Linked DNA regions of Homo sapiens: region 2 is linked to region 1. Evidence: promoter capture Hi-C in 16 types of primary human blood cells and fetal thymus (Javierre and others, 2016). All regions are on one chromosome and are shown on one strand. The core of a region is centred on a gene start or on the middle of the fragment in contact, and the rest is flanking DNA. Distances in the headings are between cores, read along the strand shown. Region 1 holds the start of PHLPP2 (PH domain and leucine rich repeat protein phosphatase 2). Region 2 overlaps IST1 (IST1 factor associated with ESCRT-III).

Evidence for each region. Contacts are between HindIII fragments. The CHiCAGO score rates a contact against its expected background, and 5 or more counts as called.
Region 2: a fragment that was not itself captured here is called in contact with the fragment with the promoter of PHLPP2 in region 1 in 1 of 17 cell types (non-activated CD4 T cells); the score reaches 5.7 in non-activated CD4 T cells.

Annotation. Positions count from the first base shown.
Region 1 is chr16:71,721,459-71,727,505 of GRCh38, reverse strand. PHLPP2 (PH domain and leucine rich repeat protein phosphatase 2) reads left to right here and starts at 2,805. Exons shown (of 19, transcript NM_015020.3): 1 at 2,805-3,177. RefSeq lists a silencer at 3,232-4,201 and an enhancer at 3,967-4,468. The HindIII fragment of the contact is 20,650 bases long and covers 1-6,047 here.
Region 2 is chr16:71,901,014-71,907,060 of GRCh38, reverse strand. All of the region lies in intron 1 of IST1 (IST1 factor associated with ESCRT-III), which reads right to left. Among named protein-coding and RNA genes, the nearest start is that of IST1, 8.5 kb to the right of the region's middle. The HindIII fragment of the contact is 442 bases long and covers 3,649-4,090 here.

The DNA.
Region 1 (6,047 bases), core at 1,556-4,055:
CAAATTAATTTTTATCACTTTTAAGGGTTTTCTATCCTATGTCTTCAATTGTCAATTCAATTGTCCCCATATTTGAAAAATATCAAAATGTTCACAGAAAAATTCTCCAAACTTTGAAGCTAGGTAAACACTGCCTGTTTATTTGGAACCAAAATTAGGAATATCCAAATCTGCTTAACCTATTGGTAGAATAACAAGGGATTTAGGCCCAAAGATGACTTTGTGGATCACTGGAGTGCGTACTAGATATAAATAAGTAAATATAAGTCTCATCTGCTTCCTCTCCCAACATCTGATAGGCATGAGCTTCCCTTCTCCAGACTTCCCATTTTGTAGTGAAGATCTGGAAAAGCTCCTGGCATAAAGAAGGTGTGTGCGTGTGTACATACCAGAGAGGGGAAGCACAGCTGCTACAGGAAGGAGACAGAAAGGAGAGATCATGATGACTTCTCTGTCTCTTGGTTTGAGCTAAACAGTGATTTTTGTAATGATGAACCTGCAGTGAGGGCAGATGGATTTTCGCACAAAAAAAATCCCAGAGGAATTTATTTTTAGGGTTAGTCTCAGCTGTTTACCATTTCCAGAAATTGTAGTTACATAACCCTTGGCATACATAATGCACAGTGCCTTGAACTGGGGGAGAACATCAATATGTGACCTTTGAAACAAAGTATAAAATGTTAATGGCACTACATGATTTGAAAAAAATCAACTGGTTGTCACTACTGAATTGGATCTTAAATCATGGGAACCATTAAAGGTAGTTACATCATAAATTAGCCCCTGAAACTTTTGGGCGGATGGGTTTTTTTTTTTATGTTTTCCCTTTTGAAAGAGGAACTACTGTTGCCAGAATGAAGAAGTAAATAGCAATGCTTATGCCTACTATCCCTTTAATTAAACAATTATTCACCACTGCTGTTCCCCAGCATGAGCTGAAACTTTAGTTCTGCAACAAGATCTTTCCTTTTTGTGTAGTCAGTCAATAAAGAGCTTCTACTCATGAAATCTGGAAAAGGTAATGTATAATGCCTCAAGAAACAGACTCTTACAGCCAGGTGTGGTGGCTCACACCTGTAATCCCAGCATTTTGGGAGGCTGAAGTGGGCGGATGGCTTGAGCTCAGGAGTTCGAGACCAGCTTGGACAATATGGTGAAGCCCCATCTCTACAAAAAAAATGCAAAAAGTAGCCAAGCGTAGGGTGGTGCTCACTTGTGGTCCCAGCTACTGGGAGGCTGAGGTGGCATGATCACCTTAGCCCATGGAGGTTGAACCTGCAGTGAGCTATGATTGTGTCCATACCGTACTCCAGCCTGAGCAACAAAGCGAGACCCTGTCTCAAAAATAAAAAAAATATAAAAGGCTTTTGAAAAACACTTTTTTTTTTCCTTGAGACAAGAGTCTCCCTCTGTCACCCAGACTGCAGTGCAGTGGCGCGATATCTCGGCTCACTGCAACCTCCACCTCCCAAGTTCAAGTGATTCTCCTGCCTCAGCCTCCTGAGTAGCTGGGCCTACAGGCTCGTGCCCCCACACTGCCTAATTTTTGTATTTTTAGTAGAGATGGGGTTTTGCCATGTTGGCCAGGCTGGGTTCAAACTCCTGACCTCAGGTGATCTGCCCGTCTTGGCCTCCCAAAGTGCTGAATTACAGGCATGAGCCACTGCACCCAGCCAGAAACACTTGTTCTAAACCACATTTTTTTCTTATCACTGCTTGCCTGCCCTTGTTAAAATTTGCTTCTGTCTCCATATTGGTGCCTATTGCTTATATACCAGTTTTCTTGTTGGGAGAAATTACCCAGTAAGCACTGAAATGGGAATCCAACTACTTTGAGTACCTTTCCTGAAAATAATTTCAAGGTGGAAGGAAAATCCAGGAGGTGGATGACCTAAGAGTTTTCTCCCACCTTAAACCAGACTCACAGTGACAAATCGTTTTTAATGCATTAAAATGAGGCCAAGAAATGAAGATTACTGGAGATTGGAATTTTGGTATATACAAAGCTAACTTGTGAAGGGAGAAAGTAGGTCAGAAAGGGGTCGGAACCTGCAAGAGCCAAATTTGGTCCTGGCATTTAAAATATCTCCAAATGGATACATATCTCAGATGGGGGACACAGACTGCTCTGTTAAATCTAAAAGTCTTGTACTAAGCCTGCAATTATTCTAGACATACAGTTAGTCTGAATGAGGCAAACTGAAGCAATGGATAATAGGGACAAAGGGTCCTGCTTTGTCACCCAGGCTGGAGTGCAGTGGCACGATCTCGTCTCACTGCAACCTCCGCCTCCCGGGTTCAAGCGATTCTCCTGCCTCCACCTCCCAAGTGGCTGGGATTACAGGCGTGCGCCACCCTGCCCAGCTCATTTTTTTGTATTTTTGGTATAGACAGGGTTTCGCTATGTTGGTCAGGCTGGTCTCGGACTCCTGGCCTCAAGTAATCTGCCTGCCTTGGCTTCCCAAAGTACTGGAATTACAGTTCTATGAAAGTGAAGAAATTACTGTTTTTTGCTGTCTAATTCCTTACAAGTTGCTTGAAGATTCAACACCCTATGTATGAGGGGAAGCCCTAAAAATCTGGAAGTCTAGAAGCCTTCCTAGGAAAATTTAGGAGGAATCGACAGAGTACTTTTCGAGAAACCGATTGGATCTTCAATTTAGAATTTTGGAATTATAATGGCTACTATGGATCCCCACTATACGTTAGGCACTTTGTATGCACTAAATCTTCATCATAACTACTTGGCAGATTTTAATCTCTTTCTCACAGCTTAAGAACGAAAGGCTTAGATCAAGTAACTTGCACAGGGGTATAGATCTAAAGAAGGGCAGAGGGGAGATCTGGAAACAGGCTGGCTGACTCCAAATTTGGCCCATTGGCAACAAAACTACTATCACTGCGAGAACGAAAAGAAAAACAAAACAAAGAAAAGAAAAGAAGTTAACTTTTAAAAGTTTTTTTCTGAATCAGCCTTGCAAATAAATCATAAACCGGGTCACAGGCCATATTACTGCTTGAAGCAGAGCACCGAATTCTGATAATTTTGCTCCAGGAGGAGGCAAGGGAATTAAAACATGGCTGGGAGGTGAGCGGACGTTTTGTACGAGGTTGGGTTGAATTTGCTTAAGAAGGTCGCACGCATCTCTGATAAGGAAGAGAAAAGGCCTTGCCAAGGTGAGTATTCTCAACAGTTCGTTCAACGGCTTGGCAGGTGAGGGAAGTTACAAGAGCCACCCTGGCGGAGGGCAGCGTCTTGTCACAATTGACAGGTGCCGGCGCCACCTGCTTCTTTCTCCCGCGGGTTTCTTAGAGGGCGGGGAAAGCAGCAAATACCCCTCCTTGCGCTCTAGTCCTCCAAGCCTAGGGCGGCGGGCAGTGGAGGCCCAGCGCTCTGCGGTGGTGCCAGGTTCCGCCACGCGGGCCGCGGCCGGAATGCGGCTCGGTGGCGCCCGGGCCACTCGGCGCCGGCAGCTGCTTAGGTCCAGCGGGGCTGCGGGAGGGGCGGAGCTGGCGAGCCGCCGGAGGGGCGGAGCCGGCGGGCCGCGGGGGGCGGGGCCACCGGTTGCTCGCGCGCGCCGCCGAGGCTCCGCACGCCGTCGCGCGGGCCGGGCGTCTCTGTGAATCCTGGGTCGCCGATGGGGGAGGTGGAGCCGGGGCCCGCGGGCCCGCTGGAGCCCCCGGAGCCGCCCGAAGCGCCCGCGAGCCGCCGGCCGGGAGGGATCCGGGTCCTGAAGGTGAGGAGGCGGATGGACCAGCGAGCGAGCGAGCGGGCGAGCGGGCAAGCGGACTAGGGAGGGAACGAGGGAGGCTAGAGGCCGCTGCCGCCCCCGCCCCGCGCAGTGGCTGAGGCAGTCGGCGGCCCCCGCCCGGCGTCAGTCAGTCGGCCGCCCCACACCCGGCTGGGGACGCCGAGGCCTCCGCGCCGCGCCCGCGTCCAGGCCTCGGCGCCTCGGTACCCCGCTGCTGCCCATCCCTGGCCGCGCGCCGCCCGCCTCGCAGGCCCACGCCTTTGGGCTGCGGGTAGCCGCCGCCCACCCGGACCCTTCGCCGCCCCTGCTTGCCTCGCCGCGCTCGGGGCCCGGAGGCCGGCTCCGGAGGGCTCGGAGGGCCGCCGGTTCCTGGCACAGGAGCGGGGCTGGAAGTACGCAGGGCTTTCTCCCCTCCCGGACACCTGAAGACATCACCCCAGCGGGAGGATGGCAGCGGCGATTGGCCGGCGCCGCGGAGGGTTCGGGGCCAGGCCGGGTGGAGCCGGCTCCTCTGCCCTCGGGGCTCGCTACCCGAGGTGCCAGCCGGCAAGGACGACCCGCCCAGCTTGGAGAGAGAATCCCCGCTGGAGCTGCGTCGCGGGGACTTGCTGGGCGTGTTGCGGAAGGGAGGAGGGGCCGGGCCGAAAGGGGCATTCCTGCTCCCGGGAGCGGGGCCGACTGCCGAGGGAGACGGAATGGGGGAGCCGTTATGCAACAGGCAGCTAGCGGGGCTTCTTGGCAGGAATTGGGGGAGTGGGAGGATATGAAAACAGATGTAGGCAAGAGGGGAGTGGAACCTTGAAGGTGATGAGAAGTAAGTTTACGAAGGAATGCACAAGGTAGGGTGGCGATAGTGGGGAGGAGAAGATGGTTAAAGGGAGGGGTTGTGGGAGGCTGACTGGGTGGAGTTTTTTACTAGCATTTGAAAGAGTTGCAGAGAAATTTTTCTGTAGGTCAAATACGTAAACTAGGTGTCCTTCCGCAGGTGGAATGGAATTCCTTCTAGAGTTCTACATGAGGAATTCAGGATATGAAACTTGCCCAGTAGAAGGATGGAAAGGAAAGAAAATTTAAATTTGATGTGTTTCAAAAATACATTGCAAAACAAAACGTATGATGTTAAAAATCCTTTAGTAGTTTATTGGGATTGAGGTTCAGCAGTATTTACATGTTATGAAGGTTAGTACGATGTTACAAAGATGGGAACACGGAAAAACAATAATAGAACCCAGTGAATCCATGGAACAACGTAAACTAGAACTCTGTAAAATATAAAACATTTTTTGTGCTACTGCCTCTCAGTTTTTTTTCTTTTTATTTATTTTTTGAGACAGGGTCTCACTCTGTCACCCAAGCCTGAGTGCAGTGACTCGATCTCTGCAACCTCTGCCTCCAGGGTTCAAGCGATTCTCCTGCCTCAGCCTCTTGAGTAGCTAGGATCACGGGCACCCGCCACCACACCCCACTGATTTTTTTGTATTTTTAGTAGAGACAGGGTTGCGCTATGTTTCCCAGGCTGGTCTTGAACTCCTGATCTCCAGTGATCCGCCCGCCTTGGCCTCCCGAAGTGTTGGAATTACAAGGATGAGCCACCACGCCCGGCCTCATACAGTTTTGTTAAGTAGCTGAGTGGTTGAATTGTGCCAAGTGATGCTGGAAAAGAAGTATTACAGTAGAATACTCTGAATTGGGAAGAGTCATCTCCCACTCATTTTTCTCTGAAGACCCTTCCAAAACTTCATTCTTTTTTGTAACTCTTTTATACCTAATACCAAATCATGAACATTATTGTCAGATAATACAGATATTCTTCAAAAGGCTAATATAACTAAGCCAGTCTAACTTAGCCAGACTAGATCCAGTTCCATCTATCCTGGGATACTGGAAAATTTCCTTCAAAATGTGCCCCCAGATTTATTTAGCGAATTGCTGGACCATAGGTTTGTAAATTTTCCAGGTGTTTCCTACAATTTGGGGTTTATGGTTTTTTTTTAGTAATGATTAACTTTTTTACTCAGCTTATAGAAGATAGGAAGTTACAGCTAATGTCGGTGTGTGTCATGAGATTCATTTTTTTTTTTTCAAGAACAGTTTTGGGTGTTTAGCAAAGTATGTATAAACAATTAATGCCAAAAAAAATTTAAAAAGATTTTTTTTTAGAGACATAGCTTCATTGTGTAGCCCACGCTGGAGTGCAGTGGTGTGATCATAGCTCACTGCAGGTTCAAACTCCTGAGCTCAAGTACCTCAGCCTCTCAAGTAGCTAGGACTATAGGCACATGCCTGGCTAATTTT
Region 2 (6,047 bases), core at 2,620-5,119, 180 kb before region 1:
ACTGCTAAAACCCAAAGACAATTTTTTTTTTGAGACGGAGTCTCACTCTGTTACCCAGGCTGGAGTGTAGTGGCACGATCTCTGCTCACTCCAACTTCTGCCTTCCAGGTTCAAGTGATTCCCCTGCCTCAGCCTCCCAAGTAGCTGGGACTACAGGCATGAGACAACCGTACCCAGCTGACAATTTTTTAAAATATTGAAAGCAGTCTGGGAAAAACGATGCATTACCTACAAGGGACCTATTAAATGACTGTAGATTTCACTTCAGAAACCAGGGAGACCAAAAGGAAGCGAAACAACGTTTTTAAAGTGCTGAAAAAAAAGAACTGTCAACTTAAAATTATATATCCAGGGAAAATATCCCTCAAAAATAAAGTCATTCTCAGATGAGGGAAAACTAGTAAGAGAATTTGTCACCAGTAGACCTGATCTAAAAGAATTGCGGGCCAGGTCTGGTGGCTCACACCTGGTAATCTCAGCACTTTGGGAGGCCAAGTCAGGTGGGATCACCTGGGGTCAGGAGTTTGAGACCAGCCTGGCCAACATGGTGAAACCCCGTCTCTACGAAAAAAAAAAATACAAAAAATTAGCTGGGCGTGGTGGCGGGCACCTGTAATCCTAGCTACTCAGGAAGCTGAGGCAGGAGAACCGCTTGAACACAGTAGGTAGAGGCTGCAGTGAGCTGAGATCGGACCACTGCATTCCAGCCTGGGCAACAAGCGCAAAACTGTGTCTCAAAAAACAAAACAAAACAAAAAGGCCGGGCGCAGTGGCTCGCACCTCTAATCCCAGCACTTTGGGAGGCTGAGGTGGGTGGATCACGAGGTCAGGAGATTGAGACCATCCTGGCTAACACAGCGAAACCCCGTCTCTACTAAAAACACAAAAAATCAGCTGGGCGCAGTGGCACTCGCCTGTAGTCTCAGCTACTCGGGAGGCTGAGGCAGGAGAATTGGTTGAACCTGGGAGGCAGAGGCTGCAGTGAGCCGAGATGGCACCACTGCACTCCAGCCTCAGTGACAGAGTGAGATTCTGTCTCCAAAAAAAAAAAAAAAAAAGAATTGCTTAAGAAGTTTTTAATGCAGAAAGGAAGTGTTAACCAGAAGGAAACCCAGAACATTATAAAGCAAGAGTTACAGAAACGGCGAATATCTGTTACAGATGGCTCTGCAAGTCTCTTAAAATATGTTTGACAATTAAAAACAAAACCAGTACTGTCTGATAGAGCTTTCAATGTATGTAAATGTAATACATAAGATAACCAAAACATTATGGGATAAAGGGAAGAAGGGTAAAGAGATCATCTATAGAATAGTAAGGTTTTCATACTCCATGAGAAGTGGAAAAACATTGACTGGAAGTAGCCTATGAAAACAAGTTCGACTGGGTGCGGTGGCTCACGCCTGTAATCCCAGCACTTTGGAAGGCCAAGGCAGGTGGATCGCCTGAGGTCAGGAGTTCAAGACCAGCCTGGCCAACATGGTGAAACCCCGTCTCTACTAAAAATACAAAAAAGTAGCTGGGCATGGTGGTGGGCGCCTGTAATCCCAGCTACTAGGGAGGCTGAGGCAAAAGAATCACTTGAACCCAGCAGACGAAGGTTGCAGTGAGCTGACATGGTGCCATCGCACTCCAGCCTGGGCAACGAGAGTGAAACTGTCTCAAAAAAAAAAAAAGAAAAGTTCATCCATTGTAACCCCTAGAGCAACCACTAAAAAATTGTATACGGCCAGGCATGGTGGCTCATGCCCATAATCGCAGCACTTTGGGAGGGCAAGGTGGGTGGATCACGAGGTCAGGAGTTCGAGACCAGCCTGGCCAACATAGTAAAACCCCATCTCTACTAAAAATACAAAAATTAGCCCGGTGTGATGGCACGCACCTGCAGTCCCAGCTACTTGGGAGGCTGAGGCGGGAGAATTGCTTGAACACGGGAGGCAGAGGCTGCAGTGAGCTGAGACCACGCCACTACACTCCAGCCTGGGTGACACAGTGAGACTCCATCTCAAAAAACAAAAAAACAAAAATACTACACAAAAAAAGCAAAAAAAAAATTTTTTAATGGAATTTAAAAATATGTTCAAATAGCTCAAAAAGCAGGAAACAGAAACAAAAATGAGAGAACAGAAAACAAATAATAAAATGTAGACCTAAACTCAAACATTCAAAAATTACATAATTAAATGAAAATGGTATAAACACAATTAAAAGACAGATATTGTGAGAATGAACCAAAAAATGATCCACTATATACTGTCAACAACAAACTCACTTCAAATATAATAATGTAGGTAGTTTAAAAGTAAAGTATGGGAAAGGTATATATGCAAACACTAATCAAAAGAAAGTTGGAGGCCAGGTATGGTGGCTCATGCCGTAAGCCCAGCACTTTGGGAGGCTGATGTGGGAGGATCGCTGGAGCTCAGGAGTTCAAGACCAGACTAAGAGCAAGATCCCATCTCTACAATTAAAAATAAAAATTAGCTGGACACGGTAGCATGTGCCTGTAGTCCCAGCTACTCGGGGGGACTGAAGTGGGAGAACTGCTTAAGCCCAGGAGGTCAAGGCTGCAGACAGCCATGTTTGTGCAAGTGCACTCCAGACTGGGCAACAGAGCAAGATCCTGTCTCAAAACAACAGGCCGGGCGCAATGGCTCACGCCTGTAATCCCAAAACTTTGGCAGGCCGAGGCAGGTGGATCACTTAGGTCAGGAGTTCGAGATCAGCCTGGTCAACATGACGAAACCCCATCTCTACTAAAAATAAAAAATTAGCCAGGCGTGGTGGCATAAGCCTGTAATCCCAGCTACTTGGGAGGCTGAGGCAGGAAAATTGCTTGAACCTGGCAGGCAGAGATTGCAGCGAGCGGAGATCACACCACTGCACTCAGCCTGGGCAACAACAGCGAAACTCCGTCTCAAAACAACCACCACCACCACCAAACAAATAGAACGTTGGAGGGGTTACATTAAAATCAGACAAAGTAGACTTCAGAGAAAGGAAAACCAGGGATACAGAAGGACATTACATAAGCATAAAAGGGTGAAGTCACCAGGAAGATACAACAATCCTAACTGTGAATGCACCCAACAACAGAGCTTCAAAAACAAAAAGCAAAAACTAACAGAGAGGAAAGGAGAAATAAATCTAATTATAGTTAGAGGCTTCAACATACCTCCCACCATAACTGATCAACCTAGCAGACAGAACACAAACAAGGACAGTGAACTGAACACCACCACCAACTGACGGCATCTCACTGACACTTACAGAACATTACACCCAACACAGCAGTGTACTAGAACATTCATGAATGTAGGACATAGCTGGGGTTCTAAAATCAAACTTAACAAATTAAATAGGACCAGGCATGGTAGCTCTCACCTATAACCTCAGCTACTTGAGAGGCTGAGGTAGAAGGATCGTTTGAGGCCAAGGGACCAGCCTGAGTAACACAGTAAGACCTCGTCTCTATTAAATTTTTAAAGAAGAGGAAAACAAAACCCAAATTAAATAGAATTGAAGTCATACCAAGAATGTTCTTTAACTGTAATGGAATTAAACTAGAAATCAACAGAAAATCTCTTAACATTTGGGAATTCAACAATATACTTCTAGATGAACTGCTTGGAGGTCAAAGAGAAAGCTTCAAGTGAAAAAAATTTTTTAAAGGTTTGTACTGAAAAAAAAAATATATATATGTAACGAATTTGTGGGATGTAGCTAAGGCAGTGCTTAGAGAAAAAATTATATCATTAAGGTTTTAATTAGAAAAGAAGAGGCCAGGCTCAGTGGTTCACACCTGTAATTCCAGCACTTTGGGAGGCCAAGGGGAGAGGATCACTTGAGGCCAGGAGTTTGAGACCAGCTTGGACAATGTAGCAAGACCCCATTCTCTACAAAAAAATTAAAACATTAGCAGGGCATGGTGGCACACACCTGGAGTCCCAGCTACTTGCAAGGCTGAGGCAGTGAGCACGAGAGTTTGAGGAGGCAGTGAGCTATGATCATGCCCACTGCACTCTAGGCTGGACAACAGAGCAAGACTCTGTCTCTCCAGAAAAAAGGTCTCAAATTACTAATCTAAGCTTCCACATTAAGGAACCAGAAAAAGAGCAAAATCAAACCAAAGTAAGCAAAAACAACAAAAAGAAAGCAAAAATCAATGAAATAGAAGAAAAAATAGAAAAAAAATCAAGGAAACTAAATGCTGATTCTTCAAAACGATTTTTTAAAAACTGACATACCTATATAACAAACTCACAAAGAAAAGGAACATATAAACATATAAATTATCAGTATCAGCGATGAAAGGGTGAATATCACTACAGATTCTAAAGACTTTTAAAGGCGATATTATAACCAACATATATCTATAAATTCAACAATTAAATGAAATAAACAAATCCCTCAGAAACTCAAATTTACTAAATTTGACACAAAGAAATAGAAAATATAGCTGCACTAGATCTATTACAAAAATTGAATCTAGGCTGGGCGCGGTGGCTTACGCCTATAATCCCAGCACTTTGGGAAGCCGAGGCGGGCAGATTACTTGTGGTCAAGAGTTCGAAACCAGGTTGGCCAACATGGTGAAACCCCATCTCTACTAAAAATACAAAAATTAGCCAGGCGTGGTGGCAGGCATCTGTAATCCCAGCTACTCGGGAGGCTGAGGCAGAAGAATTGCTTGAACCCAGGAGGTGGAGGTTGCAGTGAGCCGAGATCACACCACTGCATTCCAGCCTGGATGACAGAGCCAGACTTTGTCTCAAAAAAAAAACAATTAAATCTAAAATTAAGAACCATTCCCAAAGAAAATCCAGGCCCAGGTGGCTTCTCTGGCAAATTCTATCAAACATCTGAGGAAAATCAGTACTAATATTACATGAACCTTCACACCTCTTGGGCTGGTATGAGAATTAAGTGAAAATTTGTAAAGAAATTAGCACATTGTGTTATATGTACACAGTAAGCACCATGTAAACATTTGTTAAATAAATTCCAGTCAATGGACCCATATTTTAAAAAGTCTTAGCTCTTCATCTAAAGATTAGCTAGCCTCTTTTGTGTGTTTTATGTTAAAATAAGATGTTTAAGGCATGCTTTATATCTTTTTCCCTCGGTTTAACAATTCTGATTAATCTGTTTCAATCTCACTGCAAGACAACTGTTTCTTACATACTGCCTAGAACGGTATGTCACCCACACACTGCCTAGCACAGTGTTTTGTACAAAGCTGTCGCTCATGTATTATGTTAATTAGTAGAAAATTTAATTAAAAACCACATGCTTTTAAAAAAATTCTACAAATTTACATAATCTAGTTTTGTTTTAGAATTAAGGAAAGAAAAGCAATTTGCTAAACTATTTTGTTAAGTACTGAGGATTTTTCAACTCCTATTCAACAGATCCCCATTTTACGAAGAAACTAATCATTAAAGACAATGACAGTAAACCACAAAAGTAGTAACTAAAGGATATATCCTAAATGATTACCAGTACATTAAATAAATCAGACTAAAAACGAATTTAAAGCAAAAGACTACGCAGGGCGCGGTGGCTCACACCTGTAATCCCAGCACTTTGGGAGGCCGAGGTGGGTGGATCACGAGGTCAGGAGATCGAGACCATTCTGGCTAACGCAGTGAAACCCCATCTCTACTAAAAACACAAAAAATTAGCTGGGTGTGGTGATGGGTGCCTGTAGTCCCAGCTATTTGGGAGGGTGAGGCAGGAGAATGGCGTGAACCCGGGAGGTGGAGCTTGCAGTGAGCCGAGATCGTGCTACTGCACTCCAGCCTGGGCGACAGAGCAAGATTCCGTCTCAAAAAAAAAGAAAAAAAACCAAAAGACTGACTTAATTACTATCTCAGAATTTGAACCTGTTTCCAAAGCTAAACATAACATAAACTTTGTTATCCTGTATGATTAGGAACATTAATTTTGGAAATAATAACCTAAAAGTTAATAAAATATTCTAGTCAACATTTACTATTCATATATACATTAACAAACATAAACAAATTTTTATACATATGTGATTA